2 separate regions of the Homo sapiens genome follow, and region 1 is linked to region 2. Evidence: promoter capture Hi-C in 16 types of primary human blood cells and fetal thymus (Javierre and others, 2016). All regions are on one chromosome and are shown on one strand. The core of a region is centred on a gene start or on the middle of the fragment in contact, and the rest is flanking DNA. Distances in the headings are between cores, read along the strand shown. Region 1 overlaps CERT1 (ceramide transporter 1). Region 2 holds the start of ANKRD31 (ankyrin repeat domain 31).

The links. Contacts are between HindIII fragments. The CHiCAGO score rates a contact against its expected background, and 5 or more counts as called.
Region 1: a contact is called between a fragment that was not itself captured here and the fragment with the promoter of ANKRD31 in region 2, in 1 of 17 cell types (neutrophils). The highest score is 5.5, in neutrophils.

The regions. Positions count from the first base shown.
Region 1 is chr5:75,502,166-75,509,700 of GRCh38, forward strand. It overlaps CERT1 (ceramide transporter 1), which reads right to left. Exons shown (of 17, transcript NM_001379029.1): 2 at 3,817-3,951. Among named protein-coding and RNA genes, the nearest start is that of CERT1, 5.7 kb to the right of the region's middle. The HindIII fragment of the contact is 333 bases long and covers 5,864-6,196 here.
Region 2 is chr5:75,233,597-75,241,372 of GRCh38, forward strand. It overlaps ANKRD31 (ankyrin repeat domain 31), which reads right to left and starts at 3,282. Exons shown (of 26, transcript NM_001372053.1): 1 at 2,987-3,282. The coding sequence starts at 3,090. It overlaps LOC124901006 (a long non-coding RNA gene), which reads left to right and starts at 3,442. Exons shown (of 2, transcript XR_007058823.1): 1 at 3,442-3,770; 2 at 7,141-7,292. RefSeq lists an enhancer at 3,003-3,172 and a silencer at 3,223-3,522. The HindIII fragment of the contact is 5,895 bases long and covers 990-6,884 here.

The sequences.
Region 1 (7,535 bases), core at 4,780-7,279, 270 kb after region 2:
GGAAAAAGAAATAAAAATGGGCTATAAATTATTAAGTTACTCAACCTCATGGATAAAAAGTGCAATTTAAAATAATAAGATACCATTTTAATGTAGCAGTTTGACAAATACTTTAACATTTGCCAAACCCAACTTCCTCAATACTTGCGGGTAAGGAGAAACAGAGGCACTCATTCACTACTGGTAGGAGTGAGGAGTGGTACTCTTGAAGGAGTATTTGACAATAACTAAAAACAAATTTTAAAGTACATATTTGTTTCAATAATGATTGTAATAAAAATTAGGCATGATTTAAATGTGCAAAAACAGGGTCCAGGCAAATAAATATAATATATCCACACGATTCAACAGAATATAACAGTTAATGTGTAAGTTGTATTAAAACAAGGTGCAGAACAATAGGCTTAATATGATACCATTTGTGTAAATATTTATGAAAGATATAAACAAATCCTTGTATAGTCCTACATATTTTCTGAAAGGATGACCAGAAATTTAAGTTTGGTTGTCCCTCAAGTGCAAGACTAAAAAGCAGCATGTACTTCTTAAACTTTTTAATGCCACAAATTATATTTTTTATCATGTGCACTTTATTTTAAAAATAGAATATAAAAAGTAAACAGTGTAAATATTCCATAAACATTTGCTTTTAATTGAAACAATTACAACTAACATATTCAGAATATCTACTATGCGGCAAATTTTGTAGCAGGGGCTGGGTCTTCTAAGTATCAAGCTATAATAACTGAAGAATTCAACTGTCTTTCTACAAACACTTATTCTACATACAAATAGCTCTTTTTACACAAAGTAAGGGAATACTATTTTTCCTCTCACCTACTTACTGTCAATCCTTTCACATTAAGGAATAAATTCTCTCAAGACATACTTTCTTCCTTGAAATTATTTCACCCACTTTATTATCACACAGATAAAGAATATTGTTTTTATAAATTAAGAGTGATTTAATCATTAAACTAAGAATGAACTTAAAATGGATTAGGCTCTATCAAGAAATGTGGGTTCAGATGCTAGGTCCACCAACAAATAATATAGTAATGAATGGTTACAGTAAAGTCACATCAACTCTTCAAGCCCAGATTTCTTTGTACGTGAATATTATCAATTTCATAAGAGTGCCATATAAAGAAATTAAACATTTACATTCTTTGTATTCTGACATGAAGTGACAATAGGCATAGCCCATATTTAAGGAAAAAAAATACCAAGAGATGCCTATTAAAATTTAATGAGGAATATTACTATTACATTTATTTATTTAACTAAAGTACATACTCTAATTTGTAAACTCATCCTGAGTTCACTGAATTCAGTTATATTTTTAATTTCCTTTAAATATGTAACATGGAGTCTGTGAACCCAAAGGGCAAGGAAAGTTCAAGTTCAATAATATAAATGCTTGTGTTTTTTCCTATCATCCATTTCATTGTATCTAAGACTACCACACAGATTTTGTTGCCTAATTCATCTTTTTACTTCTACTTTTATCTCTCCTTCAAAGAATTCAAATTGTTTCTTGTTCCTACGCATGTCTTTTACTATGTACCACAATGAAAGTTATGCATGTACATATAGCTATAACAAAAATCAATTACAATAAAGTAACACTGTTTTCTTCCTGAGAAGATGGATATAAATGTTAAAATTTAAATTTTTTGTTTAATTTAAATTAAACATTTAAATTTTTTGTTTAATTTAAATTAAACATTTAAATTAAATGTTTAATTTAAAATTTTCTTTTCTCCAAATAAGCCAGGCAACATTATTATAGTCCATAATTCAAGACAGAATAACTATATTTAAATCCACAGAAACTAGCATGGTACTCTAGGAATACTACTACTTAGAGAATAATAAAGATAAAATTTAATTCCTCCCCATTTTTACATCAATCATTATACTATTTTCAAAGAGTTAAGCATTGCAACTAATAAACATCCAATAATAATACGCAAAAGAAGGGGAGTGGAGGATCAAGGAAAAACACTTCAAGATCGCAAGGTACATTTCAATCCACTATTCTGTCCATTGATATGAATAATGATCTATCTCGGAAGAAAAACACCCAAAATATTAAACTAGATACAATTTCTAAACACATTACAATGTACCACATACCAGTCAAAATAAATACTGAGCCTTTATGTTAAAGCTATTTCCTAAAAATTGTCTCTAAGAATAGAGAGCGTAGTTTCATTATCAACACTTCCAAATATTTCTTCTGTGTTTCTCTAACTTGATATTCAATTCTAAACTTTTGTTTTCAAACTTTGAATATACAAGGGGGGAAATAATGTATAAAAAATAATGTAAAAATACTGTAAGATTTTCCCTAAATGCATAACAAACATACGCTAAGTAAGGATTAGATATTAACGGAAATCTGAAGTATTATATATATATCTTTCACTTTTATAAGCCAAATAAATTCTATCACAAAATGTGACTTCTCTTTGAGTGAGTTAGTAAACTCTGTATTTTTGTTTTAACGTACCCATTTTCAGATTTTAACTACAACAGCTCCCTTAACTGACCTCTATTTAACTGTCTGGCCTTAGCCAACACTTTTTTTTTTTTTTTTTTGGCCCATGGCATGCTGACCATTCTTAACCAGTATGCTATTTTTTGTATTATCAGGTACTTCTGTTCTCACTAGTTGGGTTACATGCTTAACAAGTCAGTTGGTTGTTCCCAAACCTGTTTATGCCAGTTTACTTGTTATAGTTCTTACATATCTTAAACATTATTCATGTCTAATGACTACGAGTGCAAAAAGGAACAGTTGTTTCTATATACTAAGTTAAATGTAAACTAAGTAGGCCAGGCGCGGTGGCTCATGCCTGTAATCCCAGCACTTTGGGAGGCTGAGGTGGGTGGATCACTTGAGGTCAGGAGTTTGAGACCAGCCTGGCCAACACAGTGAAACCCCATTTCTACTAAAAATACAAAAATTAGCCGGGCGTGATGGCACGTGGCTATAGTCCCAGCTACTTGGGAGGCTGAAGCAGAAGAATTGCTTGAACCTGGGAGGTCGAGGTTGCAGTGAGCTGAGACCACAGAACTGCACTCCAGCCTGGGTGACAGAGCAAGACTGTCTCAAAAACAAAACAAAACAAAACAAAAAAACAAAAAAAGAACAACAAAATGTAAACTAAGTAGAATGACTCAACGAAGGTGAGTTATTCTTTTAAAGGGTGTTGAATTGGAGAAAAGTGATGTAACTGCAAAATATAAGGGGAAATCATAAAAAGTTAGAAGGAGCCTATACTTAGAGTTTTTCAAAAGTTATCTTCAGGCTTTTATTCCACATTAGAGAAATCAAAACTGTAAATAGCAAATCATGTGTGAGGAACATGAGAACAGCTTCTCCCAACTCCACAAAGAGATGGCATTAGCTCAATGTTAAAAAGTTTAAAAATGAATTTACATTTATATTTTTAAGTTAAAATTTTAGAATGTTACTTACAAGATGTATTATTTTTAAATATTCAGTAACCTACAAAGTAACTGTCCCAGCCTCAACAAATAAAAAGGCTTCAAACATTTTTTTTTCCTGAAGCCCTTAAACTGGTTTGATATACCCACCAGATAAAAACTACATGTCTATGCAAAATAACAATATGTAGTAAAAACCACAGTAAAATCACTTTATGGAAAAAAGTATTAGAATGTATATTCTACAAGGACAAGGATCTTTATCTTATCCACGGATGTATCCTGAACACGTAGAACAGTTCCTGGTATGTAGCTGACACTCAATAAATATTTGTTGAATGAAGAAGAAAAGGAACTTACTGTGATGACAGCCTTGCTAAGACAGATGGATCCTCTGCAGCCATACTCTGTTTCATCTTCAGATTTGTAGTAACTCAGAGCATTATTTTTCAAAACTACCCAACGATCCTGCCACCCATGAATGTAGTTTGTCCACTGGGAGTGGGAAGGGGAAGGGAAGAGAGAAGAAAACAAAAAATAGAAGTATTTTAGAAATCCAAACTTTGTGAAACAGCAATCTAATTTTAAAACCAAAACGTGAAAAGTCCAACTTAATTCTAAGCATAAACAGTAAAATGATTACAAAAAGTGAAAAGTTGAGATTTTCTAGATTGCATAATGATTTTCAGTAATTTTTACAATATTATAAATAAATCTGTAAGAAATAAAATATAACATTTTCTTCTAACATTTGAAGAATAAAACGAAAGCCAGATTTTGGTTAAAATTATTGTTTATTCTTCGTATGCTTTCATCCTCTCCTAAGTACCTTCATGATATTTGTTTTGGTCCTTGTCATAATTAACATATTCAACAGAGAAGTATGTTCAGTTATGTATGTAGTCTCTCATTCTGACACCAAAGACTGCATGAAGCCTTCTAAATCAACGGAAGTATAAAGTCAATTATTGCTAAACTCTACTTTTGTTGTTATTCCTATATGAAAATTTATAACAGCTGTAACTATATCAAAATAAAAATAATAATCTTTAGTAAGCTGGCATCAACTTTAACTTTTCCTCTACAGAACTGAATAATATTAAAAATGGCCAATACATTTTCCAAGTTCCTCTGAACATGCATTTTTCAAACTCAAGAGTAATAAAACAAAAATAAAATTGCTTTTCAAAAACATATTGGATTGTCTTCAATACCTTAAGAGTTTCTGTGTTGCTAAAGTCTTGCTGCAAAGTGAAGATCACAATAAACTGGAAAAGGCAGAAATGTAACCTTTACAGGAATACTTATTTTTGCATGTTTTTATCTATGCTCTGGGGTGTTAAGTATAGAAAAATCTCAAAAACTATCTGCCAATTCCAAAAACTAATTAAAAATGGATTGCCAAAATATACTGCATTGGCTCAGGCTCTATATCCACTGAGAAATCTTTTATTTTTCTGTTCTCTAATTAAGCATTTTTGAGATTGATTCACTTCTTAAATTTTCTTTTATTTAGTATTTTCTTGAGACAGGGTCTCGCTCTGTCACCCAGGATGGAGTGCAGTGGCACCATCTCAGTTTACCGCAATCTCCTGGGCTCAATCCTCCCACCTCAGCCTCCCAAGTGATTGAGACTACAGGTGTGCACCCCCACATCTGGCTAATTTTTTGTAGAAATGAGGTTTCGCTATGGTGCCAAGGCTCGTCTCAAACTCCTGGGCTCAAGCGATCTGTCTTCCTTGGTCTCCCAAAGTGCTGGGACTACAGGTGAGCCACCATCCCTAGCCAGTTCTTAATTTTTCTAAGCCCCATCATTACAACCACTCTCTGAGAACTCACCCAAGCCAACATTTAACTCATTCTAGTGGCTCCCAATCACCATTTCCTTATTTCTAACTGCTTGAGATGTACCACCACTTAGACACGGGCTTGAAATAAATGATAGTTACCAATAAAACTGAATTCACCTTCCTATAAAGTATACTTCCTTCCTATTTTCCTACTTCCTTGGGGAGACTGCTACTTCTGCTCAGAGTTAGTGTATTAGATATACAAACAGATTAGTGGATATAGGATAAAATAGGCTCAACTATTTTATAACTCATGTGAAGAGAGTTTTGACAAGTTACTTTTGTAAACTTCAGTTTCTTTGCCTGTTGACTGACGGCCGAATAAAATAATGAAAATGCCTAGCATAGTCACAGAAGATACTCAATACCTAAGTGTTCCTTCTCAATATTTATAGCCCATTACCAAAAGCTGCTCATCTTTCCTTCATAGTAAACCCTTAAATTTGCCTCCTCTTCTCATTTTCAACTATTCCAATCAAATTATCCAGTTCCTGTATTCCTTAGGAGACTTAATAATTTTTTCTCTAGTATCTTCTGTTTTTTTCATAATTTACACAAGCTTATTTACTTACTAAGCATATTTGCCTACTTTTCTTACATTGATCGTATTGAGTCTCTAGCTCCAAAACTTACATGGACAACTTCCCACTGACTGTCATACAAATTGTTTAGGGCATTCAAGACCCTTCATGGATTAATCCTACCTCATTTACAATTACCACACTTCATAAGGCTAAACTTTGTGACAGTGGTCAAGTTACTTATTCTCTTTGTGTTCTTTTTTTCTTTGTCAAATTCTCTTAGAGTTAAGTTTAAACAAGAATAGACTTAGAACAGTGCCTGGACATAGTATTTTCTGAATCTGAGGAAGAGTTATACATAGCTAATGAAGCTTAACCTTCAGCATTTCTCACTAGAATAGAACTCTTTCAATGTTAGAGGAGAAGCCCCAGCAATTATGTATCCATAACTTAATATTAGTTCTTATAAGAGACTGAACAAACTGTATCAGCTTCAGGACCCTTTACTCAGTAAGTATTAGCTGTATCATGACACCTGGAAGACAAGTTTTTTGTCTTTTCTCTGCTCTCATAATGTTCCCTCACTCTTCCCCATTTAACAAATACAGATAAGGCAATATGCTAGACACTGCAGGGGAATCAAATATTACTGTGGCCAACAGGCCAGCAGACACAAACTCAAGAGAAAAAAATATATATTTAGAATAAGAGTCAGAAGCAAGCTACAAACAAAATGCTATGGGAATTCAAGTGAAGGAGGTCTTGAATGATGGCAAAATAAGAAAAGGCTTTATGGAAAGGACAGTATTTGGCTTGGACTCTTAAGGATGGACAGAATTTCAAACAGTTTGGTGTGTGGAAAAACAGAAGGTAAACCATGAAGGATGGAGGAAATTCAGAAATTGAATGAGATTATTTTATCCAGGCTTAGGTGCTCTCAAGTCCTACTAAGGCATGCATCTTTTCCCCACCATGATCCATCACGATACTTGCTATAACTAGATAGAATTATTGTCTATCTAGTATTTTTGGAATCTATACACTTAAGTGATTTATAAGAAATATGCTTCATAGGTATTTCCATGTATTTCAGATTACCATATGGAAAATACCCTTTGAACTGGTATATTTCTAATATAAATTTACCCAAGCCCATTCCAAATCCACCCCATTTTGGGGGAGAAACAAAATGAATTGTACCGGGACTTATTTACATTACTCAATGGAAGGAAAAGAACAAAATCCGAGTTCTGACCTTTGTTTAAATTACCAGGTGAATACAAAGAATTCAAACTATATAATTTACATTTAAAAACATCTACCATACTCAGTATGAGTATATATACTCAATTTAGAATACCCTTGATTAAAAAGCTTCCAGAAAACTGTATATAACCATAAATTGGTAAATCTCAGGAAAATTTCCTTCATAGCTTTGAGCAAGAATACCAAAAGCTTTATTCCTATTCATTCTACATATGCAGCAACAGTCAAAATTTAAGCTATTCACCTTCCATAGAGGTGATCAAATACATTTGTATGCATTTAAATATCGAGATTGGTCTTCCATTTTTTTATCTATAGTATACCTACTCCAGAGCACTGGTTACTTTTTCCCCCGGTCACTCCACTCCCCCAACCCCCAAAAAAGTAATTATCAGTAGGTCAAAAGTACAATTTGTTTCGTAAAATACTTAACACATCACAA
Region 2 (7,776 bases), core at 2,032-4,531:
AAAAATTTAACATTATGCCAATAAAAGTACCAATAAGGGCCGGGCACAGTGACTCATGCCTGTAATCCCAGCACTTTGGGAGGCTGAAGTGGGGAGATCACTTGAAGTCAGGAGTTCGAGACCAGCCTGGCCATCATGGTGAAACCCCATCTATACTAAAAATACAAAAATTAGCTGGGCATGGTGGTATGCGCCTGTAGTCCCAGCTACTCAGCAGACCCAGGCAAGAGAATGGCTTGAACCTGGGTGGATGGAAGCTGCCGTGAGCTGAGATCATGCTACTGCACTCCAGCCTGGGTGATAGAATGAGACTCCGTCTCAAAAAAAAAAATAGTCCAGATTCTTTCCTAAGGAAATTATTTTTAAAAACCCCAACAATTTATGCTTAAGGAAATTATCTCAGAGTTATTTGCAATAACAAAAAATTAAAAACAAACTAAATGTTTTGTTTTAAAATCATATAATGCTTCAACAAATTATCCCTTTATGACAGAAAACTATCAATAATTTAGGGAAGAATTTTAATGACATTGCAAATGTTTAAAAATAATGTTAAGCGAAAACTGTAAACTTGTACAAATTGATTCAAACTTTGTAAAAGAATTATAGGTGCACACACAAAAGCCTACATAGAAAGCTGGAAGAAAATATACCAAAGTCTTAATACAAGTAGAATTAGGTCAGATTTCTATCTCATTCATGCTTCTTTTTATTGCTCATGTTTCCTATAGTGTTCCTGAATAGACAATATATTTATATGGTTCAAAATTCAAAAACCAGTATAGACTAGCCCTGATTACTCATGCTCATAGTCCTCACTACTCAGGGAGCTGAGGCAGGAAGATCACTTCAGCCTAGGAGTTAGAGGCTTCAGTGAGCTATGACTGCACTATTGCATTCCAGACTGGACAATAGTGTAAGATCCAGTCTCCAAAACAAACAATATAATAGGGTATGTAGTAAAATATCTCTCTGTCCCCTCAAATATAAGCTTTCTTTCCCACAGGCAACCAAGGTGTTTGATTGTTTTGTAATTCTTTCAGAGATATTTTCTAAGTGTATATATGTTGGAAGACAGAGGTAACACTATTTTCTAAAAACAGAAGCACTGTGTCAAAGAGTATATGTGTTTGTAATCTTGATAATTGAAATTTTTTGAGTTTTGTATTATAATTATATCTTTCTTCCTCTACAGTTATAAAAGAATCCCTTTTTGGCTTCTTGTAATACTTTTTGGTTTTTTTTTAACATTTACATCTTTGATTCATATGGAATTTTTTTGGAGTACAGTGTGAAATATGGATTCAACTAAACTATTTTCTACATACATCCTTCATCATCCCAATATCATTTTTTGAAAAATCCCATCATTTCCTCGCTGGTTTGAGATGCCACCTCTGTAATACACTAAATTCCCATATGTATGTGATTCTATTTTGGGGGTTTTTATGCTGTTTATTGATCTGTCACTTTATGTGCCAGTATCATATTTAAAATATTTTATATCAGAAAATATTTTAATATCCTATAGGTCATTACCTCCTTATTGTTCTTATTTTTCAGACTTTTCCTAATTGCTCTTATTTATTTTACGATATAAACTTTGGAATCAGTTGTCTAGTTCAACAGAAAGTCTTGCTGGTACTTTTTTTTTTTTTTTTTTTTTTGAGATAGAGTCTCACTCTGTCGCCCAGGCTGGAGTGCAGTGGAGTCATTTTGGCTCATAGCAACCTCTGCCTGTTTCTCATTACAACCAAAAACTCCGAATGAATATTTTTTAAAAACTACTCGAGAACCTTGAAAAGTAAACAATAGCAGGTAGATTGGGGACTGAAGTTGAAATCTTAATAACAACCCATTTATTGACGAGTTTCAGTTTGTTTTCGGTTTTTTGGTTCTTTTTTGTCTTTCAGCTTTGAACCATCCAGTGGGCACAGACAGTAAACCTATTTTTATCCAGAAGACCAAGGAAAATGACCCCTGCATGCCAGAAGGTATAGGACAAAGCCCAGGGCTTTATGTTGCTTTCTCTCTCACCTCCCAGCCCTGCCCCAAGGCTGGCCCTAGCCTCAGAGCAGACACCAACCATGGCAACTGGGGAACATAAAACTCAAGAGAAAGTGTCTACCAGAGGAACTGGGAAAAGGGATCGGTATTGCCTGAAAAGTGTGGACAGAATCCCCCTTTTTTCTCTCTTTTCTTAACTCTGTGCTAAAGGCTGTCCCCCTTGTAAGGAACTGCTGTATAGTGAAAAGGCTAACACTCAAAGAAACCTGTCTTTCTGATCATATGAACTGGCAAGTGGGTATGATGAGGAAAGGGGGCAGGAGAATCCTGGAGAAGAGAGAGAGGGAAAGGAGAATGACCTAATTCTGTGTACGATCCAACTTAAGTCCCAGACACAGCCCTGAGCACATATGAAGCAGACCTAGTGGCCTCATCCCTGCCCTCTTTTCCCTGTGTCTAGCACAGAGAATATGTTAGAGAAAGGTTTCGATAACCTGAAATACCGACTTTTTTGGATTCGTATAAAACTATTCGTTTCCAGTTTGGCAGGGACCAGTTTCCCCATCACACATTCTTTTCTTGAGAGAAACTGTTACCCATTTTCCTAGAACTGAGCTACGAGTCTCTTGAAGCAAAATGAAGTCTCCTGAAACAAAATGCAGTTAAGTTCAGACCCAAGATCTTTTTTGCTTGTGCAAAAAGACTTAAAGCCCCCAAAAGGAAAGCCTTTTGAAAAATGCTATAAAGCCACCTAGTACAAACCTCATTTTATCCCTAGCTGGTTGGGGGTAGGTGGGAACAGACTGTGTTTGCTTATTTACAAGCTCTCAGCTCAGGCACGGCTGCCCCACAAGGCTCTGATCCTGCCCACAAGCACATGTTCTGGTCACGATCTCCACTCAAAACTCTGACCCCCTCAGAGGGCACCTGGGCCGCCCTGGCGCGAGGGTTCAGGCACTGTGGCCCTAATGATGGTCACCTTCTCCAGGGCAGCTCCTTTTCTTCCAGGTCGCTCTCCGTCACTGAACCCTCTATCACAGTTTCATCACTGTCCCAGTCTGGGGCCTGGACGCCTTCCTCCATCTTTGCCTCACATTCAAAGTCTTTTTTACCCTCCTCTAACTCCCTCTTGCCCGCAAACAAAAAAACGCTTTGAGGGCCAGGGGAAATTGTGAATTAAAAATAAAAATAATATAATCGCAGCAGGAGCCGGGACTTGTCGCAGGGCTGCTGAGGAGGACGCAGGCGGCCGCGAGCGCGGCGGGGTAGCAGTCTGCGAGGCGGCCCGCGGGTCCCGCCGCTCGTCGCAGACAGGGGGCAGCCGCTCGCCACACGACGGAGCCCTGCGCAGCGCTCGGCCCCGCCCCCAGCTCCCGTGGCCGGAAGTGGGAGGCCGCGCGCGCGCGCGCAGGCCTACTCTGGGCGTGGCCTGCCGCTGCGTGTTTTTTTCACGGTTTCTCATTCTCGGTCGCTAGGCTTTGAGGGTGCTGGGGTTGCTGCTGCAGAGACCAGAAAGGCAGGCGTGGCGCACCCAGAACTCAGACCGAGCCTGCTTAACACCCTTGGCCGGGAGGGTGACCTGCCATGCACCTGATGCTTGTGAGCCCCAGATACGGGAAGAGCTGTCAGCTCCTGCCCGCCCCAGCAGCCCTGGCATTCTGGAGCCAGAATGCGACCTTAGACCTAAAGAGAGTTTTTGCAGCCCACCAAGTGCTTCCTTTCCCTTTAATCCCTTGACAGCCTCTCCTCAAGTGTCCTCTGAGGTAGACAAAACAGATACGTTTATCAGAAGTTTTAGCTCATCAACTAATCTCAGTGATGTATTTTGCATTTTTTTTTTCTCTCAACAACGCTTTGGTTACCTGAAATACAGATTATGCAGGAAAGGCAGGATAAATGCTTTATTTTTTCCTCTTTTATCAATTTTTATAATAATAGTAATGCCTAGCAACCTCCAAAAGTAGTCAATTGCGTTTTAATGAAGTACTAGAATTTTATATATTTGATGTGTTTCAGTCTAGTTGAACATTTTTAATTCAAACTAATTCAAAACAAAGCCAAGTGAGCTTCCACTTGCCAAGTGAGAAGAAGATTCAAGAAAAGACCAAGTTGTTTTCCCATAGCAAGTGTTTAGTATTCACCTTGGAGTCTCCAGCATCTAGCACATATAAAGTCTAAGTTTTGTCATAAATGGATGGAGCTAGAGATTTCTGACTTCCCAATTCATTGCCCTTTTCACTATATGGAGTAGCTTTGCCATTATTATCATTATTATTATTTTGTGTTTTTACTATGTATATTCAAGCCACTGCTATTTAAAATGCTTGATTGGTGATTATCTTCTAAACTTAACTTGAGGCTGGGGGTGGTGGCTCTACCTGTAACCTCAATGCATTGGAGGCCGAGGCAGGAGGATTGCTTGAGACCAGAAGTTCAAGACCAGCCTGGGCAACATGGTGAGACCCCTATCTCTGCAAAAAATTTGTTTTTAATTAGCAGGGCATGGTAGCATGGGCCTGTAGTCCCAGCTACTCAGGTTGAGGCGGGAGGATCGCTTGAGCCCAGGAGTTTGAGGTTATAATGAGCTATGATTGAGCAAACGCACTCCAGCCTGAGCAACAGAGTCATACCATGTCTCAAAAAATAAAAAAATAAACTTACTTGAATAAGTAACTTACTTAAATAAAATTCCTCGCCTCAACTCTGTAAATTAGGCAGAGCAATAATAAATATGCAAAGAACTAGACCTCTTTTTTATTTTTTTTAACAGTAGTCCATTTATACCCTCCGTGTCTAAATCAGACCTAAATTCCTATCACCTTTCCTGCTCACCCACTGTTTAATTAATTCATTAGCGCATTCTTCTGTGTTGCCCAAGCTAATCTCCAACTCCTGGGCTCAAGCTGTCCTCCCACCTCACCCTCCCAAATAGCCGGAACTACAATCTCATGCCACTATGCCCACTTCACCCATTCTTTTAATTATCCAACTCTGCTTTCACAGGAATTGGGGGATGCATACCCAGTAAATGGTGGTGAGTGGCTCCATTTGCCCCAGAGGGAAAGATGACTCCACTAGTAACAGTACTTGCTCCAAACAGCTGGTAACAAGCTAAGTGCAATAAGTCCTCACTTAATGTCTGTCGGTAGGGTCTTGGAAACTGCAACCTAAAACAAAATGACTTACAAGGAAACCAATTTTACCATTGTCTAATTGATATATATGAGAGTTAAGTTCTTACAACATATTTCTGGTCACAAAAACATTACCAAACTTGTAAATAAACACCAAAACACCTTTACTATTAAACATTGAAATAAACGTGAGCTATATATATATTTATTAAATATATATATTTAAGAAATATCTTAAATATATATCAGATATTTATTAAATATATATTTAATAATAAATATTTAATATATTTAATAAATATCTAAGATATATATTTAAGATATTTCTTAATATATTTAATATATATAATAAATATCTAAGATATATATTTAAGATATTTCTTAATATATTTAATATATATTTAATAAATATATATAAGAAATGTCATATATATTTAAGAAAGATTAATAAAAATATATATATTTAAGAAAGACTAATAAAAACAAATAAGATAATTATTTACCTAGTCATTCCAGTTCAGGGTTGAGAGTGGCTGGAGCCTATCCTGGCAGCTCAGGGCTCAAGGCAGGAGCCAACCCAGCACAGGAGGCCATTTCATTGAAGAGCGTGCTCACTCACACACACACACTCATTCTGAGACCAGTTAGATAAGTCAATGAGCCTAACATACACATCTTTGGGATGTGAGAGGAAACCAGAATACCTGGAGGAAACATGCTGACATAGGGAGAACATGCAAACTCCACATACACAGTGGCCCTGGCTGGGAAGTATAATAATTTTCTTCCCTCATCAGTGTTGAAACACCATTGAAATAAATGTTATTCGAGGATCTGCTATAGATAAATTCACATTCTTCTGGGCCTGAAATTCACATTCTTTTTAAAAATGCTTTCTCTTTTGGCGGGAAAAAGTCAGTTATTTTTGCATCATCTGTTCTCCTTTTATTTAAGAGAGTTGCTAAGATTCAAAGAATGAAAAAGAAATGGCAGAGATGAGCCTCATAAATGCCAGTGTGATTTTAAATAAACCTTTTTTTGTTTGTTTTTATGAAATCCAAAGTTTCAGTGCAGGACAGAGGTGGAAAAATGAACAGAAGATCTGTTTTAGGAAATCTAGGCTGCAGTACAATTCATACTGGTTTAAGCAGGGTGAGTTGAGTCATGTAATTGAACCAAGGAGAGGTTTCCCAGGTATTTCAGGAATGGCAGGAATCAGGTACTGCAACTGTGTTTCAAAGGAAATAGAGCTCAGCTTTCTTTTGAATTAGTTTGAATTTTCAAATAGATTAAAACATCGCCGAGTATGTAAAAATCTGTAAACATTATTATTAAAAAATAATAATTGGCTACTTTTGGAGGTTGCTAGACACCATTTATTATTCTAAAATTAATAACGATAAAAAGACTTTATCCTGCCTCTCCTATACACTTTATATTCAGAATAACCATAGTTAATGAGGGGGAAAAAAAATTTTTTTTTGAGACGGAGTTTCGCTCTTGTCGTCCAGGCTGGAGTGCTATGGCGCGATCTTGGCTCGCTGCAACCTCCCACCTCCCGGGTTCAAGTGATTCTCCTGCCTCAGCCTCCCAAGGAGCTGGGATTACAGATATGTGCCACCTCACCCGGCTAATTTTGTATTTTTAGTAGAGACGGGGTTTCTCCATGTTGGTCAGGCTGGCCTCGAACTCCTGACCTCAGGTGATTCACCCACCTCGGCCTCCCATAGTGCTGGGATTACAAGCTTCAGCCACCACGCCTGGCCATAATTTTTAAGAAATGTAATTAAATTTTACTTGGTCTACTCCATTTGGGCTATAATCTTACAAGAAAAATGTCCTCTTGGGGAATTATTGTTGTAAAGGTGAATTTAAAATTTTTTTTTGATGTTTAAAAAGAAAAAGAAGGCTCATTATTTTGTGATTACACAATATATTTTGCTTTTATAATTAAGATTCTTCGCTGCCTATAGCTTCATATTATTTATTTCCTATCCAGGTTACTTTGGATCCTAGAACTGTAAGAGATGAGACTTTCATGGAAGATTTGATTTATCATAACACAATATGAATCTCTAAGAGACTAAATCCAGCAGCCACTTTCACCTTAGTAATATTTCTCCCCAAAATAAAACTATATGAAGTATTTCACCAAGTATTCCATGATAAGTATTTTAAAATACACTTTCCCGACAGGGCACAATGGTTCATGTTTGTAATCCCAGCACTTCGGGAGGCAGAGATGGGAGGATCACTTGAGCCGAGGAGCCTGGGCAACATAGAGAGACCCCCATCTCTACAAAAATAAAAATAAATTAGCCAGAAGTGGTGGCGCACATTTGACCCAGGTACTCGGGAGGTTGAAGCAGGAGGATCCCTTGAGCTCAGGAGTTGCAGTGAGCTATGATTGCACCACTGCACTCCAGCCTGGGTGACAAAGTGAGATCCTGTGTCAAAAAAAAAAAAAAAAAAAAAAAATACACTTTCCAAAAGAATCATTTTCTCAAAGACTTAGACTTTTTTTTAAACAAAAATAAGTTACTAATCCATTAACCCAAGCAATTCACATGTTTGGCACAAATTAAAGCTGTCATGTAAACTTTTTTAATGGATGGGAATAAGTATGTAACTGAAA